2 separate regions of the Homo sapiens genome follow, and region 1 is linked to region 2. The links are contacts of gene promoters, found by promoter capture Hi-C in blood cells and fetal thymus (Javierre and others, 2016). All regions are on one chromosome and are shown on one strand. Each heading gives the region's core, a stretch centred on a gene start or on the middle of the fragment in contact. The rest is flanking DNA. Distances are from core to core; before and after follow the strand shown.

Region 1 (6,163 bases), core at 3,270-5,769, 500 kb before region 2:
TGGGCAACAGAGGGAGACTCTGTCTCAAACAAACAAAACAACAAGAACAACAACAACAAAAAAACTAGTGATACCACCTGCCTTGGCAGGATAAAGGTCCCAGTGCTTGTCTTGGCACCCAAGGAGCAGTCGAGCCCCCTTTGCTGGCCTCCTTGCCTTCCTCTGGAACCTCTGCTTCAGTGACAGAGCCAGGGCTCATTCACAGCTATGTTCTCAGTGCCTGCCTGACCCACAGAAGTGTTTTGTTGTTTTTTTTTTTGAGACGGAGTCTGGCTCTGTCACCCAGGCTGGAGTGCAGTGGTGCAGTCTTGGCTCACTGAAGCCTCCACCTTCTGGGTTCAAGCGATCCTCCCACCCTAGCCTCCCAAGTAGCTGGGATTACAGGCACGCACCACCATGCCCAGTTAATTTTTATATTTTTAGTAGAGACAAGGTTTCACCATGTTGGCCAGGCTGGTCTCGAACTCCTGACCTCAGATGATCTGCCTGCCTTGGCCTCTCAAAGTGCTGGGATTACAAGCACAGTGAGCCACTGTGCCCGACCAGAAGTGGGTTCCTTCCATGCGCCATTCCCTCCAGGTGCTGGGGACAGAGGGGTGAACTGGTGAATTTCCTGCCCTTGTAAAATTTGCGTCTAGTGAGGACGATAGACAAATAAATATACAGCAAAATACTGGGCAGCGATAAAGTCTATGAAACAAGGGTAATTGTGATAGAGAAATATTATTTTGAAGGGGGTAGTGAGGGTGGCACTTGAACAGAGACCTCAGTTCGTGACAGAGATTACCCTGAAAGGAGCTGAGAGAGCATTCCCGGCAGAGGGAACAGCAAGTACCAAGGCCCTGAGGTGGGAACAGCTTTGACACTTGGGGAACAGCAAGGAGGAGGCTACAGGGCATTGAGTGATGGGGAGGGGTGGGGATGAGTGGAGAGGCAGCGGGCTGGCTCAGCAGGGCCTTGCAGAGGCCATAGTAAGGACTCTGTTTGCCTTGCTTGCCCTTCCTGTTTTCTCTCCCTTTCTCCCTCCTTTTCTCCCTCCCTCGCTTCCTTCCTTTCTTCCCCCTCCCTCTCCCCTCCCCTTCTCTCCCCTTCTCTTCTTTCCTTTCCTTCCTTCCTTTTCTACCTTCCCACTTGCCCTCCCTCCTTCTCTCTCTCTCTCTCTTTTTTTTTTTTTTGAGACAGGGTCTCACTCTGTCGCCCAGGCTGGAGTGCAGTGGTGCAATCATGGCTTACTGCAACCTTGACCTCCCAGGTCCAAGTGATCCTCCCACCTCAGCCTCCTGAGCAGCTGGGACTACAGGCATGCGCCACCACACCCAGCTAGGCTTTTATTTTTGGTAGAGACAGGGTCTCCTTATGTTGCCCAGGCTGGTCTCAAACTCCTGGGATCAAGTGATCCTCCCGCCTTTGCCTCCCAAAGTGCTGGGATGACAGGCATGAGCCGCTGCGCCCGGCCTGTGTTTTGTTCTGAGTGGAGTGGGGGCAGTGGTGTGCTCACACTGGCTTGCGAGAGCTGACTGTGCACATTCCTCTCCCTCTCCATGTTCAGCGATGTCACATGGTAGCTAGGAATTGGCCAAAATGGGAGTGTTTACACCACAGGAATTGGCAAATTCTTCAAGTGAGCTCCACCCACCAGCTGGTTTTAAACATTTACACTACTGGGAAGGTTTGAGATGGGGAGAGCTATGATTCGACTTCAACATGTTCGCATGTACGGGAGTGGAGAGGAGGAGAACGGCCAGTAGGAGGGCAAGCGCGAACACAGGAAGACCAGGGAGATCTGCAGGGAGGTTAGTGCACTAGTCCAGGAGGGAGGTGGTGTGGCTGGGCTGGGAGAGCAACAGCAATGGTACTAAGGTAGATTGTGAAGCTCTTCTTTTTTTTTTTTTTTTTTTGAGACGGAGTGTCTGTCACCAGGCTGGAGTGCAATGGCGCGATCTCGGCTCACTGCAGCCTCTGCCTCCTGGATTCAAGTGATTCTCCTGCCTCAGCCTCCCGAGGAGCTGAGATTACAGACATGCGCAACCACGCCTGGCTAATTTTTGTATTTATTAGTAGTGATGGGGGTTTCACCATGTTGGCCAGGCTGGTCATGAACTCCTGACCTCAGGTGATCCTCCTGTCTTGGCCTCCCGAAGTGCTGGAATTACAGGCGTGAGCCGCCGTGTCTGGCCTGATTGTGAATCTCTTCTGAAGGAGGATTTGCTGATGGACTGGATTTGGCTTTGTGAACAAAAAAGGAGTCACGATGCCCTGGTTTTTGGCCTGAACAACTTGCTGGATGGTGGGACGGGGCAATGGCGGGGAGAAGCAGAGGTTGTAGGTGTCTCTCCGGGGTTTGAAAGGCCCAGACAGACGAGTTCTTAGATGTCAGTATCCCAAGAGTAGAGGCCAAACATGGTGGGACCCTTGACTTGCATTCGGCACGGAGGTCCTGGCTGGAGAGAATTGTCAGTGGGTTGAAGGGACCAGGAGAAGGTGGCAGGAAGGGAGAAGGGGCCAAGGCCTGAGCCCTGGGACTCGCCGGCATTTAGAGGAAGGGAGACTGGGAACTATGAGCCGGAAGAGAGGAACTACATTGCGTCTCTCCTCCAGCTGGTATCTACATTTTTTATTTTTTCACACCAAGCACGAGAGGTGTGTGTACAAGACGCACAGTGGCGGCCTGTGGCTGTGCAGCGCCCTCTCCTCTGGCAACAGAACCTTCTTCCCAATGGAGAAGCCACGAGAAAGGGTTGAGGTGGGGCCGGTCAGCCCCCTACTCAGGGGTGGACACATGCCCAGACCTGGCCAATCACAGGGGCCCTGCTTTCCTGTGCACTGTGATTGGTTCTGGGATGAGCTTGTGACCTGGCTGTGCCAATGAGGATCATCCCCAATGCCCTCTGTTAGATCAGGTGGGAAGATGCCCTGTGCCAGGGCTGCTAAGCTGGGAAGATGCCATCCTGGGGATGCCAGTGGCAAGGCCAGGTACAGGATCTGTGGGGTGCGATACAACATGAAAATGCAGGGCCCCTTGCTCAAAAAGCAGGAAAAAGTGCCACGAAGGGTCCATAGAACGCTTCCTTCCACCATCTCTCAACTTGTCATGGCATTTTAAATTTTCTATTCAATGTCATTCTAAGTACAGAAAGGTGTACTTAGAAAGGTGTAATTATTGTAAATAATTAGCATGAATTTTACCATTCATCTTTATATTGCGTAATACCAGTTTTATTTATATTTATTTATTTATTTATTTTAAGATGGAGCCTCTCTCCCTGTCACTCAGGCTGGGGTGCAGTGGCCAATCTCGGCTCGCTGCAACCTCTGCCTCCCAAGTTCAAGCAATTCTCGTGCCTCAGCCTCCTGAGTAGCTGGGATTACAAGTGTGTGCCACCACACCTGGCTAATTTTTGTATTTTGAGTAGAGACAGGGTTTCACCACGTTGGCCAGGCTGGTATTGAACTTCTGACCTCAAGTGATCTGCCCACCTCCCAAAGTGCTGGGATTACAGGCATGAGCCACTCTGCCTGGCTGTGTAATACCAGTTATAAATATAAATACCAGAGCATTTAATTCATGTGCAGAATCGCTGAAATTGCACAATTCATATTCTGTGGCTTGTCCCTGAGTGTGCCTTGAACTGGCCAGAAAAGACAAACACAAGCCAGGCTCAGGAAGGTTATAGGGGGAGGAGAAGACCCCCTGGTTAAGGTGGTTAAGATAGTGCTTCTCCGTATGGGAGATTGCCACAAGGGTGCACACCCTCCCAGCCCCCTCCACCCCTGCTATGCCTCCCTGCGTGCTCTCTCTAGATGGGGCCTGGCAGCTGCTGGATTAACCTTCCAACCAACCACTGGGCTGATGTCCTGAGTCCTGGTACCTCCCCTTCCCACAGGCCCCCACCTCAACCTACAGCAGAGGAGTGGTCTCTAAGGACCTCAGTACCCAGATCGGGGTAGGTGAAAGGTTCACCCCACGTCTAGACACGGTCTCTGGTTGGCTGCCAGTCAGGCTGTGGTGCTGCTAATGCACAGCAGTGGCGGCTGTCACCGTGCCCTGCAAGGTGCTGCTCACGGATGCCTGAACTCAACCCTCTCTACGCCTGTGCCCAGGTCCCTGCCGAGGATGGGAGGGAGAGGCCAGGCAGAGCCAGGGCACCAGAGTGCCAGGGGGCAGGGTAGCAGGGGGACCAAGAACCTGTCTCAGGGAGGTGGGGAGGTGGCAGGAGACAGGACTGCACCTGAGTCGAAGCTTCAAACACGCTCCACTGTCTCAGACTTCACTCAACACAAACTCAACGATAAAATGATGTTGAATTTCAAGACAGCAGAGCATTAGACTCCAAGCATGGGCTCATTTGAACATGGGGCCCTGTGTGACTGCACGATCCCTGGCCAGTGGCCTTCTTGTTCTGGCCGCAGAGAAAACCTAAGAAGAGGCCAAGGAGAGGTAACGAATAAGCCCTGATGACATCATGTGAGCCTCTGGATCCAGCTACGCCTGAGCCGAAACACCCATGGACTTCCCTGTTTCTGTGCCAGGAAATAAATCCGCTCTTTGCTTCAGCCAGCTTTAGCTGAGTTTCTGAGGCCTGAACAATATGGGACCCTGAGAGGAGAGGATCCAAGGCCCAGGAATCTCGACACCCGAATCCCTTTCTTGGCTTAAAGAATCTTGGAGCTGTCCATCAACTTGGAATGTCTGCAGGTTGCCTAGAGGTCTCACTGCCCCTCCCCACATGGATCTGTCCTGTTCTGGGGCCACGTCCTTTATCTGTCTTAGGCCTGGATTTCTTTTTATGAACAAAGGGAAGCTTTATTCCCCAGTCTTCCCAGTTCTCCCCAGGCTGTTTGATGTGGGTGTTAAAGGAGACACTGGACTTCCACACTGGGGGTGTGTGTGTGTGTGTGTGTGTGTGTGTACTGGATTTCCACTCTGTGGTGTGTGTGTGTGTGTGTGTATGTGTGTGTGTGTGTGTAGTGGCCTGGAGGGTGCCAGGGAGCTGGGAGGACAGCAGGAAGGATGCATGGAATGTTTAAGAAACATCAGGAAGGCCGGGCACGGTGGCTCACACCTGTAATCCCAGCACTTTGGGAGGCCAAGATGGGCGGATTGCCTGAGGTCAGGAGTTCAAGACCAGCCTGGCCAACATGGCGAAACCCTGTCTCTACTAAAAATACAAAAATGAGCTGGGTGTGGTGGCGCAAGCCTGTAATCCCAGCTACTTGGGAGGCTGAGGCAGGAGAATCACTTGAATCTGGGAGGCGGATGTTGTGGTGAGCCAAGATTGTGCCATTGCACTCCAGCCTGGGCAATAGAGTGAGACTCTGTCTCCAAAAAAAGAAAAAGAAACATCAGGAAATAACTGGATTTGGGGGGCAGAAGGGGGAGGAGTCAGAGGCCCAGAGGTAGTGGGGAAGGGTCTGATTGGAGGAGGATAGGCAGAGCAATATCTTACTGTTTCCTCTTTAAGCCACTCCCTAGAATGGAGTCCATTCATTCATTCATTCATTCATCCATCACTTCATTCATTCATTCAATCATCAAGCATCTATCCTGAGTGAATGTTGACTGTCAGGCACAGCCAGGTCCTGAAGATAATCAGACACCTTCCTGGGGACTAATCTTTTAAAAAATATGAGTCCTAATCTATGGAAAGACAAAAAAATCCAACAAAGTTTCTAAGGCACTTCCTCCTGTCTCTTCCCCCAACTCCAGAGTAAAAAGATCTTGATTGGGTCCCGCTGGAAAAGATGCATGTTACTTTTTTTTCTTTTGAGACAGGGTTTTGCTCTGTCTCCCAGGCTGGAGTGCAGAGGCACAATCACAGCTCACTGTAGCCTAGATCTACCAGGCTCAAGTGATCCTCCAACCTCAACCTCCCTAGTAGCTGGGACTATAGGTGTGCACCAACATGCCTGGCTAATTTTTTTTTTTTTTGAGATGGAGTCTTGCACTGTCGCCTGGGTTGGAGTGCAGTGGCATGATCTCAGCTCACTGCAACCTCTGCCTCCCATGTTCAAGCGATTCTCCTGCATCAGCCTCCCAAGTAGCTGGGATTACGGGTGCCTGCCACCATGCCCATCTCATTTTTTGTATTTTTAGTAGACACGGGGTTTCGCTATATTGGCCAGTCTGGTCTCAAACCCCTGACCTTGTGATCCGCCCGCCTCG
Region 2 (5,735 bases), core at 2,431-4,930:
CCATGTTGGCCAGGCTGGTCTCAAACTCCTGACCTCAGGTGATCTGCCCGCCTCAGCCTCCCAAAGTGCTGGGATTACAGGCATGAGCCACTGCGCCCAGCCAGATATTTAAAAAATAATCATTGTTAACATGTATTAAATGCTCACTAGGTACCAGGTGTCCTTTATTTATACATTGGTTTATTTAATCCTCCTAACAGCTCATTTTCTTTTTCTTTTTCTTTCTTTCTTTTTTTTTTTTTTTTTGAGATAGGGTCTCTTTATCTGCTGACCTTCCCTCCACTATTGTCCTATGACCCTGCCAAATCCCCCCCTGCGAGAAACACCCAAGAATGATCAATAAATACTAAAAATAAATAAATAAATAAATAAAATTAAATTAAAAAAAAAAGAGAGATAGGGTCTCACTCTGCTGCCCAGGCTGGAGTGCAGCGGTGCCATCACAGCTCACTGTAGCTCAACCTCCCAGGCTCAAGCAATCCTCCGATCTCAGCCTCCAAGTAGCTGGGGACTATAGGCATGCATTGCCACACCAGCTACTTTTTTTTTCTAGAGATGAGGTCTCACTATGTTGCCCAGGCTGGTCTTGTACTTCTGGGCTCAAAAGATCCTCCTACCTCAGCCTCCCAAAGTGCTGGGATTACAGGCCTGAGCCACCACACCCAGTCAGCTCATTTTACATTTAAGGCCCCCAAGAGAAAGAGGCTAAATAGATTGCTCAAAGCTCAGGCAAGGTCTTGATCTGCACCCAGGAGGCTGGTGCCAGACAGCCATCATGCTACAGAGATGGAGTTACCTCTCAACATGTGTAGGATGAGTAATTGCAGGAGTGAGTGGAAGAAGCCACTGTGGCCACTGGCCATGCCGAGAGATCGGAACACTGCGCTTCCCAGCTCTGGGCCTCGCATTGCTGATCTGTAAAACAAAAGGGCTTAAACCAAACAATTTCCATGGTTCTCCCAGCTCCAGAAGAGCTTTCACCTTTTTTTGGCCTCAGTTTTCCCATCTGTCTTCCAAGGGAATGATCTAGATGATCCCTCAGGCCCTTTGACTGCACAGGCCAATGTCAACAGTACCCTCTGTGTGTTCCAGGCCATGGGCCCAGAAGTTCACCTACTATGGAGTCCCCATTGTGCCCAGGAGACAGGCTCTTCATTAGGCGCCTTCCACTGTCAGGGAGCTGGGGCTTGGAGAGGGGAGGTGCTGATTTTTTTTTTGAGATGGAATTTTGCTCCTGTTGCCCAGGCTGGAGCACAGTGGCGCGATCTCGGCTCACTGAAACCTCCTCCCAGGTTCAAGCGATTCTCCTGCCTCAGCCTCCCGAGTAGCTGGGATTACAAGTGCATGCCACCATGCCCAGGTAATTTTTGTATTTTTAGTAGAGATGGGGTTTTGCCATGTTGGCCAGGCTGGTCTCAAATTCCTGACCTCAGGTGATCCACCTACCTCGGCCTCCCAAAGTGCTGGGCTTACAGACGTGAGCCACCACGCCCGGCCAAGGTGCTGAATTTGAGGCCACATGGCAGTAGGGGCATAGCTGGGGCTGGAACCCTGTCTCCAACACAAAACTGTTCTGCCTCTGGGATGAAGCCTCTACTCAGTGGGCTGTGCTTTTCCTGGGTAAGACCCCTCCACTCTGAGGGTTTTGCTGGGTGCAGGGGCAGGGTCCTCCCAGACATCCTGAGCCCAGTAGTGGCCCTACCCTGCTCGGTTCCTCAGAAAGTGGTTCAGCCACACACACTGTGGGCAGCACTGGGTATGCCCTGGTGCCCAGACTGGGCTCCTCCCAGCCGCCTAGGATGAGGGAGACTGGCGCCTCTTTGCTGGCCTTTCTTGCTGGACACTCCTTGGAGCAGAGGTCCAAGGACGGAGAACCCCGTCATCTCCAAACCCTCCCTACCCATGTGTGCACCTGCACGGATTGCTGTGGCTAAAGACACTTCAGGGACACTCGGCCTCATTTTTTAAATTATTATTTCTTATTTAATTTAATTTATATATATTTTTTGAGATGGAGTTTCACTCTTGTTGCCCAGGCTGGAGTGCAATGGCGTGATTTCGGCTCACTGCAACCTCCGCCTCCCAGGTTCCAGCTATTCTCCTGCCTCAACCTCCCCAGTAGCTGGGATTACAGGCGCCTGCCACCATGCCCAGCTAATTTTTTTTATTATTATTATTTTTAGTAGAGACAGGGTTTCACCATGTTAGCCAGGCTGGTCTCGAACTCCTGACCTCAGGTGATCCACCCACCTCAGCCTTCCACAGTGCTGGGATTACAGGCGTGAGCCACTGTGCCCGGCCTACTCGGCCTCATTTTGAAGTCGATTCCTTTCCAGCGCGGGAGGGGGTGGGGGCGGACACAAACAACACACGCTGTGAGGATTAATGTATTATAATGTATTGCTAGGCTTTCCTTAAAAATAGTGTTCCCGGCTGGGTGCGGTGGCTCACGCCTGTAATCCCAGCACTGTGGGAGGCCGAGGCAGGTGGATCACCTGAGGTCAGACGCTGGAAACCAGACTGGCCAACATGGTGAAACCCCTCCTCTACTAAAAATACAAAAATTACCCGGGCATGGTGATGCACACCTGTAATCCCAGCTACTCGAGAGGCTGAGGCAGGAGAAGCGCTTGAAGTCAGGAGGCGGAGGTTGCAGCGAGCCGAGATCACGACACTGCACTCCAGCCTGGGCGACAGAGCCAGACTCTTGTCTCAAAAAAATAAAAATAAATAATAATAATAAATAATAAATAAAAATAATGGTCCGCAGGCTTTCAGGGATGTGTGCGGGCCGGTTTTCCATATGGGAACAGGGAAAGGATGTGCTGAAGGCTTCCTCCGGTAGGCGACTTTGGCTGATGTGACTTTATGCCTCGTAGTGAGGGCAGGGCGACAGAGGGACGGGCCGGTGAGCGGCTGTCCTGGAGAAAGAGCAGTGGCATCCGGGGGGCTTAGGGTCTCAGGTCTGCTCACTCCGCACATCTTTTCTGTGCTTTCATTGAAAAACAAAACTGAAACAAGAGCGGACACCTAAGTCTGCCTCTCTCTTTCCTGTCACCCGTCTCAGGCTGGCTGTCCTCTGTGTGTGCGCCAGGAATTCTGCAACGAAGCGCCTGCCTCTCCGCTTGGTTTTCCTTGGGGAAGGGCCTGGGGCCTCCTGGGGGGTGGGCACCGGGTGTGTGGGTGTGTGTGGGGGACCTGGCAGGGAGCAGCGGGGGAGAGGCGGGGTGGGGGGTCGCGTACACCCCAGGAGCCTGAGGATGCGCTGCCTGCTGGGAGAGACAGCCTTGGGGCGGGTGGTGTGCACAGAGCTCTGTCGGCCAGCGCGGGCGGGCGGGGCCGTTGTTGGGGGCGCTGAGGCGAGTGAGGCTGGAGCTGGGAGTGGGGGGCTCGTCGCCTTCGTCTCTGGGCCGCCCCCTCCACCTGCGGAGGCGATTGTAAAGGGAAGGGGGGAATCCCTCTGCCATCACCTCCCAGATACTTGGGGGATGGAAAACGACAAAACACGGAACCTCCCACTCCCTAAAAAGTGGGTGGGGAGGGTGAAGGGAGGACACCCCTTCCCCGCCCCCAGCGCCAGCAGCCGGGGTGGGGGCGGGCGAGGCGCGCGGGGAGGAGAGGGCGGAGGAGAGGACGGGGGGCGAGGTTTGCTTCAAGAAGGGGCGTGTGGCCGGCGCAGCGCGTGCACCAGCGGCTCCGGAGCGAGCGGCCGTGGCTGAGAAGGGGAGGGCGGAAAGTTTGTTTCCCCGACGTCAGCGCCGGGCGGGCCGCGAGGCTAGGAGGCGGCGGGAGCTGGGCAGAGCGCGGGGCGGCCGGGGCTCTCGCTCCGACCCGCGCCCGCGACCCTTCCTGGGACCCGAGCCCGAGACCCCCGCCGGCCCCCCCGGGGCCGCTCGCGGGCATGGACAGCGCGGCCGCCGCCTTCGCCCTGGACAAGCCGGCGCTGGGCCCGGGGCCGCCGCCGCCTCCACCCGCGCTGGGGCCCGGCGACTGCGCCCAGGCGCGCAAGAACTTCTCGGTGAGCCACCTCCTGGACCTGGAAGAGGTGGCGGCGGCCGGGCGGCTGGCGGCGCGCCCCGGGGCCAGGGCCGAGGCGCGGGAGGGCGCAGCACGGGAGCCGTCCGGGGGCAGCAGCGGCAGCGAGGCGGCGCCGCAGGATGGTGAGTACGGCCGGCCAGGGACGGGGGTGGCGGGGCCGGGGCCGGGGCCGGGGCCGGGGCGCGGGGTCCGGGGAGCCGGCGCGGGGCGGGCGAAGATGCAGGGCGCGTGGTCGGCGGCAGGACTTCTGGGGGCGCGTGTAAGTGACGGTGGACGGCGGTTGACCAGCACTCTGGGCTGGGGGAGGGGGACCCTCTTCGGGTCTTGGGGTGCGTCCCCACGGGGAAGTGCGCTGCCTTCGCTCCCCAGTATTCGGCTCCCGAACAGCCTGGGAAGTGGGTGTGGCTGCTGCCGGGTTACAACTGGGGAAACAGAGACCTGAGTCGGGCAAAGCCGCTGAGCTGCACGTTGGGGTTTCAAACCCGCCCCCTCCCGCACGAGCTAGCGCCGCCCCAGCTCCTCCTCGGTCTTAAGTTGGGCTCTTTGGGGGGCGAGGGTGCCTGCCCACCCCCCCCCACCCTCCAGTTTGCCCCGGGAGCAGCTGCCTCGGTGGAACGGCCCAGCCAGGCCTCTCTTCCCCGGCAGAGGTCAAAGGTCATCAGGAAGGGGCTTTAAAAACAAACAACCCACCCAAGTGGCCTTTTTCAAAAAGTGACACAGGATGGCAGGGTCCTGAGCCCTTGGTAAGAAGGGGAGGGACGGGGAGAAGATGGAGAAAAAGCAAAGGCCCCAGCCCCGGACGGTTCAGTGGGGGAGGGGAGGACCGGAGTCCTCGCGGCTCAGCACACACTAAGGATGGGGGCCCGGTGATCTGAAACCAGGCCCCTGTCCCCTAGCTCTGGGGATGGGCCGGCCTGCTGGGGGCTCTGGGCCCCTGAAGTGTGCCCGCCTGACTCCAGCAGCCCTCCCACCCGCCCCGGGGGACCCTGTTCCCGGCACCAGCCTCCAGGTCTCAGGGTGCCCAGGCTGGTGGCTGCGTTCCTTGGCTTTTCAGAGACAGGAGGTGCAGGGAAAACAGAGGTGGCTGCAGCCTAGTCTGAATCCATGTGCGTCCACGAGGACGCCTGCGACACGCCTGCCTTTCACGGGGCACCTTCTGCCAGCCTGTGGCTGAGATGAAGCCACTGGCTCCCTCATGGCAGCGGCCACCACTCACTGGCCACAGTGGACTGGCCACTGGCTGCACCCTCCGGGGTGAGTGTGAAGCCAGCAGACCTCCCAGGAGTTGGGGTTTAGCTCCTCAGTAGAAAAGGGGAGGGAGATGTCCACTCTGGCCCGGAGGAAAGCAGGTGCCCTCTGGTTTGTGCTGGGGGAATGCCCTGCCGGCCCAAGGTCATTTGAGGACCTCAGCGGCTCTGAGCCGGTCCCCCAACCCCAGGACAGAGGAGAGGTCCCGGTTTACCCTGATGAAGGGAGACTCCAGGGGTTGGGAAGAGAAGGAGGAACAACTTGAAGGTGAAGGGAAAGAAGGAAAGGAGAAGGCAAGGAAAGGAGAGAGAGAGGGAGGAGAGACAGAGGAAGAGGAAGGAAGGGAGAGGAGAGAGGGGTGAGGAGGGAAGGAAGGGGGCCAGGGTGTCTCGTACTCCAGTCCTGGCCAGGGGACGGCCTGCCCATTTCTGACCTACCCCTGCTGTGGG

The links. The method cuts DNA at HindIII sites, captures the fragments that hold promoters and counts their contacts. A CHiCAGO score of 5 or more calls a contact.
Region 1: a contact is called between a fragment that was not itself captured here and the fragment with the promoter of PRRX2 in region 2, in 6 of 17 cell types (naive CD8 T cells, activated CD4 T cells, total CD8 T cells and 3 more). The highest score is 12.0, in naive CD8 T cells.

What each region holds. Positions count from the first base shown.
Region 1 is chr9:129,159,897-129,166,059 of GRCh38, forward strand. No RefSeq gene overlaps it. Among named protein-coding and RNA genes, the nearest start is that of IER5L, 15 kb to the right of the region's middle. The HindIII fragment of the contact is 562 bases long and covers 4,239-4,800 here.
Region 2 is chr9:129,661,967-129,667,701 of GRCh38, forward strand. It overlaps PRRX2 (paired related homeobox 2), which reads left to right and starts at 3,681. Exons shown (of 4, transcript NM_016307.4): 1 at 3,681-4,160. The coding sequence starts at 3,902. The HindIII fragment of the contact is 25,989 bases long and covers 1-5,735 here.